Linked DNA regions of Homo sapiens: regions 1 and 3 are each linked to region 2. The links are contacts of gene promoters, found by promoter capture Hi-C in human tissues and cell types (Jung and others, 2019). All regions are on one chromosome and are shown on one strand. The core of a region is centred on a gene start or on the middle of the fragment in contact, and the rest is flanking DNA. Distances in the headings are between cores, read along the strand shown.

Region 1 (4,397 bases), core at 51-2,550, 330 kb before region 2:
GAAATATATACTTCCTTCACTTCAGCCTCTAAAATATGAAGTATTTAAAACCATTTTAAGAACCAGTGGACAAATATCTCTAAACCATTTACAAGAGACTATTCTGAGTATTAAATTCTACCAATCACACTCAGTACCTATTATGAGCCAGTCCCTGACTTTGTGGTTTACGATCTGATTTGGAGCAAAGAGGCAGGGGTGGTGATAAACCAAAAAAAAGAGTGTGCCCATTCTACCACACTATTTGGGGGAGAGTTTCTCTCTTTTTCATTTTTTTTTTTTTTTTTTTTTTTTTTTGGAGACAGAGTCTTGCTCTGTTACCCAGGCTGGAGCGCAATAGAGCCATCTTGGCTCACTGCAACCTCTGCCTCCGGGGTTCAAGAGATTCTTGTGCCTCAGCCTCCCAAGTAACTGGGATTATAGGCATGCACCATCATGCTTGGCTAATTTTTGTATTTTTAGTAGAGATGGGGTTTCACCATGTTGGCCAGGCTGGTTTTCAACTCCTGACCTCAAGTGATCTGCTGCATTGGCCTCCCAAAGTGCTGGGATTACAGGCATGAGCTACTGTACCCAGCCTCTTTTTCATTCTTGATCTTTATTTTAACATGCAAGGAAAAGTGCCCAAATCTTGAGCATAAATTTCAGTGAATTTTCACAAGGTGAACACACACATCCAGATCCAGAACTAGAACACACCAGGGCCCCGGAAGCCCCAACAGTACCTGCTTCCGGTAGTCACTGCCCCCCTACCCCTTGCAGACTTCTAATACCATAGATTAATTCTGCCTATTTAAAAATTTTATGTAAATATATATGAGTATACATGATATGTATTTTCTCATATCTGGAAACTTTTAATTTATTGTAATATTCATCCAAATTGTTGTGTTCTGTTTTCTGGGGTTTTTTGTTTGTTTGTTTTGCTTTGTTTTGTATTCATTTTGTGTGTGTGTGTTATGTTTTCAGAAGGGAAAATAATAAACTAGTAGAGACGAAATAGCCCAGATTTCATAAACATACACCTAACAATACATCCCTTTTTAACTCCCCAGTGCACAACAAAATGAAAAACAAAAAGAAAGAAGTCCCCACACTTCCCAGTGTCACTCAGGTTCTTTGCTCAGATTCTGTTCCAATGGCCCTGAGTTCACCCCAGGTGGGAAAGAAAAACAGGCATAAAATGGTCTCTTTCTAGTTGCTTGGTGTGGTCATTTCCGGCTTATACACTGCTTTATTTGCAAATCTACTCTCAATTCTTAAATAGAAAAAAGGGGGTGGAGTGGGTGACAGTTCTAGTACCAAAAAGGTCACTGAGGGCTAGGACCTGGAAGGCAGACCTGGGCAAGCAGACAGAGGGCTCGCTGACATTCTCCGGCCCAGAATGATTCTCGGTTTCTCACTTCAGTCTTCTATCACTGTCCTACCTTCTCTGGCACATGAATGAACTCTTATTGTAAAAGATCAGTCATGCAGAAAGTAGCAAGAGGTTGCTCTGGCACCGTCACCAACCCTCCAAGGCCCTTCCCAGAACTGCTGCTCACTGCAGTACTTCTACAAATGGACCAGTCCTTTCTATATGTTTACAAACACATGTATTCATATTCGGTTCCTTCATTAAAAGCATAATTGGGGTTGTGATGTACACTGCTCTGTGGCTTGTTTTTAAATACAATGTCTTGCGATATTTCCATGTGATTTCTATGTCAGAGGGCATTCTTTTCATAAGCTTCAGAGGATGATAGCTGACACATGCCACACTTATTTTGCCAATGCCTTGATGACAGAACGTTAAGTTAACGCTGTACTTTCCTCCTGTCCCCTTTTTTTCTTAAGGGAATGTGGATTAAGGGACCTAAAATATTTTGGTTATTTCTAAAGGAAGACGACAGCTGATATATTTTAATATTTATGGTGTATATTTGTTATAAAAAGTTGGAGATGCAGAAGAGTCAACCAACTACAGATTCTTTCAAAACAGCTTTATTTATTTATTTTTTTTGAAATGGACTTTCGTTCTTGTTGCCCAGGCTGGAGCACAGTGGTGCGATCTTGGCTCACTGCAACCTCCACCTCCTGGTTTCAAGCAATTCTCCTGCCTCGGCCTCCTGAGTAGCTGGGATTACAGGCGCACGCCACCACCCTCAGCTAATTTTTGTATTTTTAGTAGAGATGGGTTTTGCTATGTTGGCCAGGCTGGTCTTGAACTCTTGACCTCAGGTGATCCACCCACCTCGGCCTCCCAAAGTGCTGGGATTACAGGAGTGAGCCACCACACCTGACCTTAAATGTTTTTAAAGTCGGGAATAAACAGATCACTGAAGGTTCTTTCAAAAAATCAGGAAACTTGAACCCACTGAAGGCATCAATTACATCTAGGCATAAAAGGTAATCTAGGCTTTTTCATTATAAATGGCGTATTGCCAGCTTCAGAAGAGAGTAAGTATATTTTGACTAGTAAATTAAGTCATTAATGTTACAAAAATGGTAGATAACTCTCTTCTTGAGTGAGATAGACACATACAGATATCATTCTCCCTGGGGTAAAAGGTACACACGTCAGTTACCAGATGCTTCTATATTCTAGAACCATCTAAATAGTCACATGTATCACAAGAAACAACTTTATAACTTGGCAAAAACTAACTTCTAACTTTTATTGTGCTGCTTTAAAAAGATTTTTCTTTGTGGGGAAAAGAAAAGATTCTCTCACTGAAGAGGTCAGGTGGCCCGGGGCTCTAGTCCCCAGTGTACCTTCTGGGCCCCAATGGCTCCAAACTCAGGCTGTTCCAGGCAGAATGCAGACAGCCACTACTGTGTGTACCTGACTGTCTAATTGCCATCTAAGCAGAGTTCCTAACCCCTCAAACCACAGTGCTCCATCCACAGTCAGACACAGCTGAAAAGGTACAGGAGGAACCTAACATGCAGAATGGCGGCTTTCTCATGATTGCAGCTCCTAAATTACTGAATTTAAGTCAACTACTAGAATCTTTCTAGGCACAAAGTTTGTTATTCATCTATGTCATATGGTGATCTGCTGAGTTCACGAGGAAAAAAAATTTTAGTATTTTCACCAAACCCACCGTAGATGCAAGACATGAGATGAACGACTGTCATAATTATTTGACACATATGTATTCAGTTAAACAGAACTTAAAGATGTTTATCCAACATGTATATTACTCAGGAGCCTGGTTTTGTCTTTTTATTTTTATTTTTTTTTTTTTTGAGACAGAGTCTCACTTTTTTGCCCAGGCTGGAGCGCAATGACGCGATCTCGGCTCACTGCTGCAACCTCCACCTCCTTGGTTTGAGCAATTCTCCTTCCTCCTCCCAAGTAGCTGGGATTACAGGCGTGTACCACCACACCCAGCTAATTTTGTATTTTTTTTTCTTTTAACTAGAGACGGGGTTTCACCATGTTGGTCAGGCTGGTCTCGAACTCCTGACCTCAAGTGATCTACCTGCCTCAGCCTCCCAAAGTGCTTGGATTACAAGTGTGAGCCACAGCGCCAGACCAGGATCCTGTCATCATTACTTAACTCTTTGCTCTTGGTGCTATTTTAAGGGTCGCTGAGAAGATGATGAGTAATTTTGCCAGTTGGTAGAATTTAAATGTATTGATAAGAAGTTTACTGGGGCCAGGTGCAGTGGCTCATGCCTGTAATCCCAACACTTCGGGAGACCAAGATGGGTGGATCACTTGAGGTCAGGAGTTCAAGACCAGCTTGGACAATATGACAAAACTCTGTCTCTACTAAAAGTACAAAAATTAGCCAGGCATGGTGGCGTGAGCCTATAATTCCAGCTACTTGGAAGGCTGAGGCATGAGAATTGCTTGAATCTGGGAGGCGGAGGTTGCAGTGAGCCAAGATTGCCCCACTGCACCCCAGCCTAGGTGATGAAATGAGACTTTGTCTCCAAAAAAAAAAAAAAAAATTGTTCATTGGGGTAGATCACAATTTAGAGCTGAATGGGCCTCAATAGAGACAATAAATAGTTCAACTTGAGGAAGAGGGGGAAAGAGAAAGAAAAAAGGAGAAGAAATGAGACCCAGACAAGTTAAACGTACCCAGGAGTCCACACATACAGATCTGAATAGTGGAAAAAGAATACGGACTAGAGACCAGAATTCTAGTCCAGCTTGAACATTAAATAACCACGTTATCCTCCAAAGGTCATTTTCCTTTTTGGCATTAGCCATCTCCCTATAAAACTAAAAGATTAGATTCATGGTCCCTTTCAGCTCTAAAATTTCATGCCTGGCTGGGTGCAGGAGCTCACACCTCTAATTCTAGCACTCTGGGAGGCCAAGGAGGGAGGATCACTTGAGCCCCGCAGTTTGAGATCAGCCTCGGCAACACAGTGAGACCCTGCCTCTACAAAAAAAAAAA
Region 2 (4,098 bases), core at 439-2,938:
GTTTGTTCCATACTCTTATTCGTCACGCTCAATATTTTTGTTGACTTCTTTGGCCAGAAGAGTTTACTGCTCCAGCATCTTCCTGGAAGAGTCCACAATTGGGCTAAATCTATTTTAACCATTTCCCTCTAGATTTTTAAATTGTACTTGCCTACACAGACATTCCCCTGCCACTTTTCTGTAAGCCTGCAGAGCCTGGCATTTTCTTCTATTTTTCTTTGTTAGTTCAGTTGCTGCCTAAAAGCAAGACTAGGCTCTCATAGAGGTAGAATGGGGCTGGGCGTGGTGGCTCACGCCTGTAATCCCAGCACTTTGGGAGGCTGAGGCGGGCAAATCACGAGGTCAGGAGATCAAGACCAGCCTGGCCAACATGGTGAAACCCTGTCTCTACTAAAAATACACACACACACACACACACAAAAGCCAGGCGTGGTGGCTAGTGCCTGTAATCCCAGCTACTCAGGAGGCTGAGGCAGGAGAATTGCTTGAACCTAGGAGGCAGAGATTGCAGTGAGTCGAGATCCCGCCACTGCACTCCAGCCTTGGAGACGGAGCAAGACCCCATCTGGGAGGTGTCGGGTGGAAGAGGTAAAATGGACAGCAGCAAACCACACGTGTGATAGGAGAGAATACTGAGCTGAGATCAGTTTCCTAAAATATGAATCCGATTTCAGGATCACTCATTTATCTGACTGTCAAGAACGCCTCTGAACAGGAGGAAGACTTTGGGGAGAGGGTGGGGTTTGTTGAAAGGGTACCGAGAAGGGAGGTGGGTGGTACCCAAACAATTTGTTTACATAATGTTTTATGGACCTGAAATATGTAGAACAGTACTTTGAAACTAAAGTACTGTACTGAAGTTTAATTATTTTTCTTATTGTTTGCATATTCTCCCTCCCAGATACTTTACAGAGGGCGCTAAAGCTGATCCCCTGGGAGCTTCAGAGTTTAATGACTTCGCCTGAAGATTTCCTATTCTTTTCCACAACGTGCTAAGTCAAATTATGGCCAAATTACCAATCGCATGGTAATTCAGCTTCTAAATATATTTTGCAGAGTGTTTCCAAAAGTTAAAAAACAACAACAAAACTTCACCTAAATTGTTTTTACTTGCTTCACCTTAAATCAGTTATTCGGTTCCTTTGAAGAACATGTAGCTTTAGCAACCCCCAAAGTGAACCCAGATACCCAGGACTACTGATTGTTACATCAGAGTTTTTGAAAACGCCAATACTGGAAACAGGCCGACAGTTAAGGAGAGGCAGGCCTCAAACTAAAGCAGAACCTTCTCAAAACTACTTATATTTCAAGAGATGGATTAAGCGAAAAGAGCTGTACAAAGAAATAAGCCATTTTCTATGCGCCTGTTATATGCAAGGCACTGCACTCCCTTGTCACTTGTTAATTTACAAGAAGACTCGCCGGTCCAGGGAAGGGAGAGGGGAATAGGTGCAAGGTTTGTGGAGGGCGGCAAACTGCACTCCATGTGGCGCGAGGCTGCGCTTGCGGAGATCCGGGTTCTGGTGCCTGGCGCCGGCAGCCAGTAGGGGCGCGCGTCCTGCGCAGTTGCCGCGCGCGGCCTCCTCGGGCTTCAGGCCGGGCCAATCAGGAGGCGGGCGGGAGGGGGCGCGGTACCGGGAGGGAACGGGGCGGGTCGGGCTTCGAGGTCAGCTGGTCCGCAGGGAAGCCTTTGGCTTCCCCACCGGCAATGGAGCGGTTGACGTTGCCTCTCGGCGGCGCGGCGGCGGTGGACGAGTACCTGGAGTACCGGAGGTGAGGCTGTGGCTCCGGGCCTGCCCCCCCGCCGCTCCGAGGGGCCAGGATCCCTGGGCTGGGGGCGCGAGCAGGGGCCCGGCGGGCGTCCGCGGGGGTTCCCGGAATCTGTGCCTGGGCTGTTGGGGGAGGCCTAGATGAATTCCAGTTTAGTCTTTGCCTAATTAAATATTGTAGGGCCACGCGGTTCTATGCAGTGATGAGTCTTCCAATAACATTTAAGAGGCCCCTCTGCTCCCTTCCAAGAAGGATGACTAACTCTAGATTGATACAGAGGTCCAGCTGTTTTTTAAATGGCCATTGAAAACAGGCACATCGAGTACTCGGGGCTATAGAAGTTAGCATACATCAAATTAACCCAGTAATTGAGTCAACCGTGAACTTCTGAACGCGCTCCCCACCCCGAGGTGCTGGTTTTAGGAGAAAGGCACCGACTGGTGTTTGGTATTCTGGAGAAACCCCTTCCGAAACTGGAAACGGAGTCGCTCCTTTGGCCTGAGGACGCGGTTCATTGTCCTGGATCCTGACCGAGGCTGGTGCACCTGCAGCGACGCGCTCTTTTTCCGCTTCCTGGGGTTTTTGATCGTCCGGAATCTGGGCGGATGGGAAGTCCTGGAGAGGACCGCCTGAGGACGCGGAGTTGGGGCGGGAGGATGTGTGTGTACAAGCGGAGGGGAGACGCTCCAGGCTCCGCCAGGGAGGCCGGAGCGAGCGACAGGGGCTCCTCTGCGGCATCGTGGGTGGCCCAGATGACCCAGAGGTGTGCGCGCAGACGGCCCCCCAGCTGACTGTTCTCCCCTGCTCTGACTGCCCTGTTTGTGTAGTTTTGGGTAACCCTTAGAACTGCCTGGATATTCTGAGCCAGAAGAATAAGGGCTAGGAGCTTGATGGGGTCAGTTCCCACGCCCGGTTCAGGGTCAGAACAACCACCATCCCGTCCTCTCCCAGAGCAGAGCCGGCTCCTTTAGCCTCCAGTTCTCCAGAGCTTTTGCCTGGGAGCAAGTTGCTGGAGCTGGTGTTGACTGATAACTTGGATATTTAGATATGTGAATTGTGGGCCTCCAGTTGACTCTTGCCTAGCTCCGAACATGTTAGGGCAGACCTATGTATGTAGTTATTTATTTTATTGAGAAATTATTTAGTTATTTATTTTATTGAGACGGGGTCTGACTCTTTCCCAGGCTGGAGTGCAGTGGCGCGATCTCGGCTCACCGCAATCTCCGCTTCCTGGGTTCAAGTGATTCTCCTGCCTCAGCCTCCCGAGTAGCTGGGACTACAGGCGGCCAGCTAATTTTTGTATTTTCTGTAGAGACGGGATTTCACCACGTTGCCCAGGCTGGTCTTGAACTCCTGGACTCAAGCTATCCACCTGCCTCGGCCTCCTAAAGTGTTGGGATTACAGGCCTGGGCCACCGCGCCCGGCTGGGAAATTATTTTTGCAATCGTAAATAACTTGCAACACTTCCCTCTGAAAGAGATTATCAGGTCCTTTACTGACGTCAGAATTTTAGAAAAGTGGGGAAAACAGGACTTGAGTACCTAGATATGAAAAGGTGGGCTGGGAAGGTGGGGTGGGAAGATGAGTCAAAATATGAGTTTAGAAGGAAACAAACTTTCCTTCCGAAGAGTTTTCCTGGATTTGCTCTTGCCTAGGTACTTCGGTGGGAGTCGGTTGGGAGGGGAAGCATGCAGCCTTGTTACTCACACTGTGGGAGGCCCTGACCAGTGTCCTGGCATCACCTGTTAGCTTGTTAGAAAAGCAGAATCTCAGGCCCACTGCAGACCTATTATTATTATTATTATTTAGAGTCTCGCTCTGTCACCCAGGCTGGAGTGCAGTGGCACTATAATGGCTGACTGCAACCTTGACCTCCTGAGCTGAAGCGACTCTCTCTTCTCAGCCTCCTAACTAGCTAGGACTACAGGCATGCATCTCCGCACCCAGCTAATTTTAAAATTTTTTGTAGAGATGGGATCTCACTAGGATGCCCAGGCTCATCTTGAGATCCTGGCCTCAAGCAATCCTCCCACCTCAGCCTCCCAAAGTGCTGGTATTACAGGTGTGAGCCACCACATCTGGCTTTATCATGTGTGTGTGTGTGTGTGTGTGTGTGTATGTATATATATATTTATTATTATTATTATTATTATTATTATTTTTTTTTTTAGATAGAGTCTTGCTCTGCTGCCCAGGCTGGAGTGCAGTGGCGCTATCTCAGCTCACTGTAACCTCTGCCTCCGTGGAAGTGATTCTCAGTGCCTCAGTTTCCAGAGTAGTTGGGATTATAGGTGCCCACCAAAATACTAATTTTTGTATTATTGGTA
Region 3 (4,299 bases), core at 776-3,275, 410 kb before region 2:
GAACCCTGGAGGCAGAGGTTGCAGTGAGCTGAGATGAAGACACTGCACTCCAGCCTGGCCAACAGAGTGAGACTCCATCTCAAACAAACAAACACAACAAAAAAAACTAAAAAAAAAATTTTCTCATTAATAATATAAATGGCAGTTTTAATCCCATTAAAAGAAGAGATTTAATCCCATTAAAAGAAAATAATCATACATCTAATTATTTGCGTGAGGGCTTATTGTTGGTGATATCCAAGGTGCAGATTTAAAAGCAAAACCAACGATGCAAGGGTGCCCTGCTTCCTGCCCAGGAAGGTGGATCAGGGCCTGGGTGGAGAGCCGGGGAGGGTGGGAACTGGAGAAGGGAGCCAAAACCTCTGCATCCAAGTGGCCATGGACTCGGATGCAGTCACCATCAGAAGCTGCTAATGTTATTCCTTCAGTGCTGCCACAGCTCAAAGTTTGTTTAGAATTACCTTTAGAGTCTTAATTCATTCTATTAAGCTTCCTCTGCACTGGCAAACCACTGATCTCTTATGTGAATTAGATGTTTTAGACATTTGCTTTCCTTTAATTCTTCTTGTAGTGAGTGATAACTTTAGGTGGGACCTGAGTCATTTTCAAAAGCCAAATAAAGAAAGCTCAGAATGCCAGGCACAGTGGAACATACCTGTAGTCCCAGCTACTCAGGAGGCTGGGGCGGGAGGATCCCTTGAGCCCAGAAGTCCAGCCTGGGCAGCACAGCAAAACCCTGTCTGAAAGAGAGAGAGAGAGAAAGAGAGAGAAAAAGAGAGAGAGAAAGAGAGAGAGAGTGAGAAAGAGAAAATGAATGCTCAGAAGGAAAGGTTTTAATTCAGTGGGGATTGCAGCTTAATAGCTTGGGTTTCAAAGGCAGAATTTCAGAAATAGATCATTCTTCAAAGCAAACCTATAGACTTTAGTTGAAGTGACTTTTATGTATCGATTCAATGGATATTCATGAAGCACCTGCAATTCTTTCAACAAATATCCCTGAGCATCTACTCCATGCTCAGCACAGTTCTAGGCAGAAGATACAGTTCTAGATCGAGTAGAAACCAAGACAAAGAAGTCCCTGCTTCTGTGAGCAGTGACAGATGTTACATGGAAAACTTTAAAGGTGGTGATCTTTTTTTTTTTTTTTGAGGCAAGGTCTTGCTCTGTCACCCAGGCTGCAGTGCAGTAGGGTAATCATGGCTCACTGCAGCCTCGACCTCCCGGGCTCAAGCAATCCTTGACTTCTGCCTCCTGAGTAGCTGGCACCACAGGCATGCGCCACCATGCCAGGCTAATTTTTTAATTTTTTGTAGAGCTGGGGTCTCACTATGTTGCCTCTGCCTCCCAAAGTGCTGGTATTACAGGCATGAGCCGGGGAAGGGCACTCCTGTAAGGGGGCACGGAGGTCTGAAAGAGCACGGGGAGTATGGCCAACTTTCAGGATTTTTAGCACAGCTAGAAGGTAAGTAGAGAGAGAGGAAGCTGGAGGCACGGCCGCCTGATCACAGGAGCCCTTCCACACGGTGGCGCTGCTGGGTCACCCAAGACCTGAGCAGGTGTCTCCAGGACGTGACATCTCTCCCCCGCGCCCTTACCACAGTGTTCCAGACATGCTGACTCATTCTCTAAATAGAAGATAAGCTGACCCAAAGACTATGTATTATTTAATAGAAAAGATTACTGAAAGCCCAGAGGGAGCCATATATCTTCTGTGACGGCTCCCTTCCTCATTTATTTAATGGCATTATAAGCGGCATGTCCTCTAGGTGGAAGACATAACTAACATGCTCTTGCTTCTGTTTTAAGACCCAGCCTCGCCTTTAAGGATGGCAAACAGTGCCCTGATCTCCGTTGGCTGCTTGGCCATATTTGTCACTGTGATCTCCCTCTTGGTGTACAAGTAAGTTTTTGGTTCCTACGCTTTATATCACTATAGTGTATTGTCAAAAGTGAATATATCTCTGTGTAAATAGGCATTTTTCCCTTTTTTGCTTTTAAACATTTTGTGTAGGGGAGGAAAATATTACATTGAATGGTGAATACCAAACTGGCCTGTTAATCTTGTTGTGGTTTGTTTTTAATCCTAAAAGATGCTACCAGATCTCAGTAACTTTACAAAATTATGTCAACTTAATTTTAACATGATAGTCTCAAATTATAGTAAGCAGGCACATTTCTTGCATGAACAAGAGTAAATAAATGTACTTTCATAAGACACCAGTGTCTTGCAAACTGTCAATCATGTTAAATGGAATGAATCCTTTTATACCTGGCATGAAAAAGATTGTAGAAAGTTGTATATTTCAACTGAAGATCTTTTAAAAATAACTAACCAACAGATTGTTTTCAGAAAACACAAGGAATACAACCCAATAGAAAATAGTCCTGGGAATGTGGTCAGAAGCAAAGGCCTGAGTGTCTTTCTCAACCGTGCAAAAGCCGTGTTCTTCCCGGGAAACCAGGAAAAGGATCCGCTACTCAAAAACCAAGAATTTAAAGGAGTTTCTTAAATTTCGACCTTGTTTCTGAAGCTCACTTTTCAGTGCCATTGATGTGAGATGTGCTGGAGTGGCTATTAACCTTTTTTTCCTAAAGATTATTGTTAAATAGATATTGTGGTTTGGGGAAGTTGAATTTTTTATAGGTTAAATGTCATTTTAGAGATGGGGAGAGGGATTATACTGCAGGCAGCTTCAGCCATGTTGTGAAACTGATAAAAGCAACTTAGCAAGGCTTCTTTTCATTATTTTTTATGTTTCACTTATAAAGTCTTAGGTAACTAGTAGGATAGAAACACTGTGTCCCGAGAGTAAGGAGAGAAGCTACTATTGATTAGAGCCTAACCCAGGTTAACTGCAAGAAGAGGCGGGATACTTTCAGCTTTCCATGTAACTGTATGCATAAAGCCAATGTAGTCCAGTTTCTAAGATCATGTTCCAAGCTAACTGAATCCCACTTCAATACACACTCATGAACTCCTGATGGAACAATAACAGGCCCAAGCCTGTGGTATGATGTGCACACTTGCTAGACTCAGAAAAAATACTACTCTCATAAATGGGTGGGAGTATTTTGGTGACAACCTACTTTGCTTGGCTGAGTGAAGGAATGATATTCATATATTCATTTATTCCATGGACATTTAGTTAGTGCTTTTTATATACCAGGCATGATGCTGAGTGACACTCTTGTGTATATTTCCAAATTTTTGTACAGTCGCTGCACATATTTGAAATCATATATTAAGACTTTCCAAAGATGAGGTCCCTGGTTTTTCATGGCAACTTGATCAGTAAGGATTTCACCTCTGTTTGTAACTAAAACCATCTACTATATGTTAGACATGACATTCTTTTTCTCTCCTTCCTGAAAAATAAAGTGTGGGAAGAGACAAGACCTTGGTATTGTAATTATTTTTCTGATTCATCATTTGCTTTTCAATTTCACTTACAGTTGTTTCTTTTTTTTAGATGAGGGTCTCCCTATATTGTCCAAGCTGGTCTCAGACTCCTGGCCTCAAAGGATCCTCCTGCCTCAGCATCCCAAAGCGCTGGGATTACAGGAGTAAGCCACTGTACCCAGCCTCAATTTCATTTATAGTTTTTGACAAGTAAAAAGTTGTTTAACAATGTCTCATAGAGCATTGATAATCTCATAAATATTTTTTACCTAACTACATATATATATATATATATATATATATATATATATATATATATATATATATATGGCTGAGCACAGTGGCTCACACCTATAATCCCAGCACTTTGGGAGGCTGAGGCAGGCAGACTGCTTAAGCTCAGCAGTTTGAGACCAGCCTGGGCAACATGATGAAACCCCGTCTCTACAAAAAATACAAAAATTAGCCAGGCCTGATGGTACATGCCTGTAGTCCCAGCTACTCAGGAGGCTGGGGTGGGAGGATCACTTCAGCCCTGGAGGTCAAGGCTGCAGTGAGCCGAGATGGTGCCACTGCACTCCAGCCTAGGAAACAGAGCCAGATTCTGTCTCAAAAAAAAAAAAAGATATATATATATATATCTTTCAAATATCTGTATATACACACAATCACATCATATGTGAAACTTCAAATAAAAGTTTAATGTGTAAATGTATATAATCAGATCAATCTAAAAGAAGAGATTTTCTATAAGCGATTGTCCTGGACTCTTTGAGTAATCAGTATCATATTAAAAATAAAGGCAGGGGGTGGAATTCTAGGTCACAGTTTAGTAAACTTTTTCCATAAAGGGCTGGGTACTAAATCTCTTAGGCTTTATGGGCCACACAGTCTCGATC

What was found. Contacts are between HindIII fragments. The study calls those that stand out against the background at their distance.
Region 1: a fragment that was not itself captured here is called in contact with the fragment with the promoter of FAM221A in region 2 in 1 of the 25 tissues and cell types used here (H1 embryonic stem cells).
Region 3: a contact is called between a fragment that was not itself captured here and the fragment with the promoter of FAM221A in region 2, in 1 of the 25 tissues and cell types used here (IMR-90 fibroblasts).

Annotation. Positions count from the first base shown.
Region 1 is chr7:23,352,009-23,356,405 of GRCh38, forward strand. All of the region lies in intron 5 of IGF2BP3 (insulin like growth factor 2 mRNA binding protein 3), which reads right to left. Among named protein-coding and RNA genes, the nearest start is that of SNORD65C, 42 kb to the right of the region's middle. RefSeq lists a silencer at 2,713-2,872. The HindIII fragment of the contact is 5,856 bases long and covers 1-4,228 here.
Region 2 is chr7:23,678,511-23,682,608 of GRCh38, forward strand. It overlaps FAM221A (family with sequence similarity 221 member A), which reads left to right and starts at 1,689. Exons shown (of 7, transcript NM_199136.5): 1 at 1,689-1,773. The coding sequence starts at 1,709. RefSeq lists a silencer at 1,623-1,912 and an enhancer at 2,243-2,492. The HindIII fragment of the contact is 14,044 bases long and covers 1-4,098 here.
Region 3 is chr7:23,271,715-23,276,013 of GRCh38, forward strand. It overlaps GPNMB (glycoprotein nmb), which reads left to right. Exons shown (of 11, transcript NM_002510.3): 10 at 1,807-1,900; 11 at 2,351-3,394. The coding sequence ends at 2,510. Among named protein-coding and RNA genes, the nearest start is that of MALSU1, 25 kb to the right of the region's middle. RefSeq lists a silencer at 1-158. The HindIII fragment of the contact is 7,079 bases long and covers 1-4,299 here.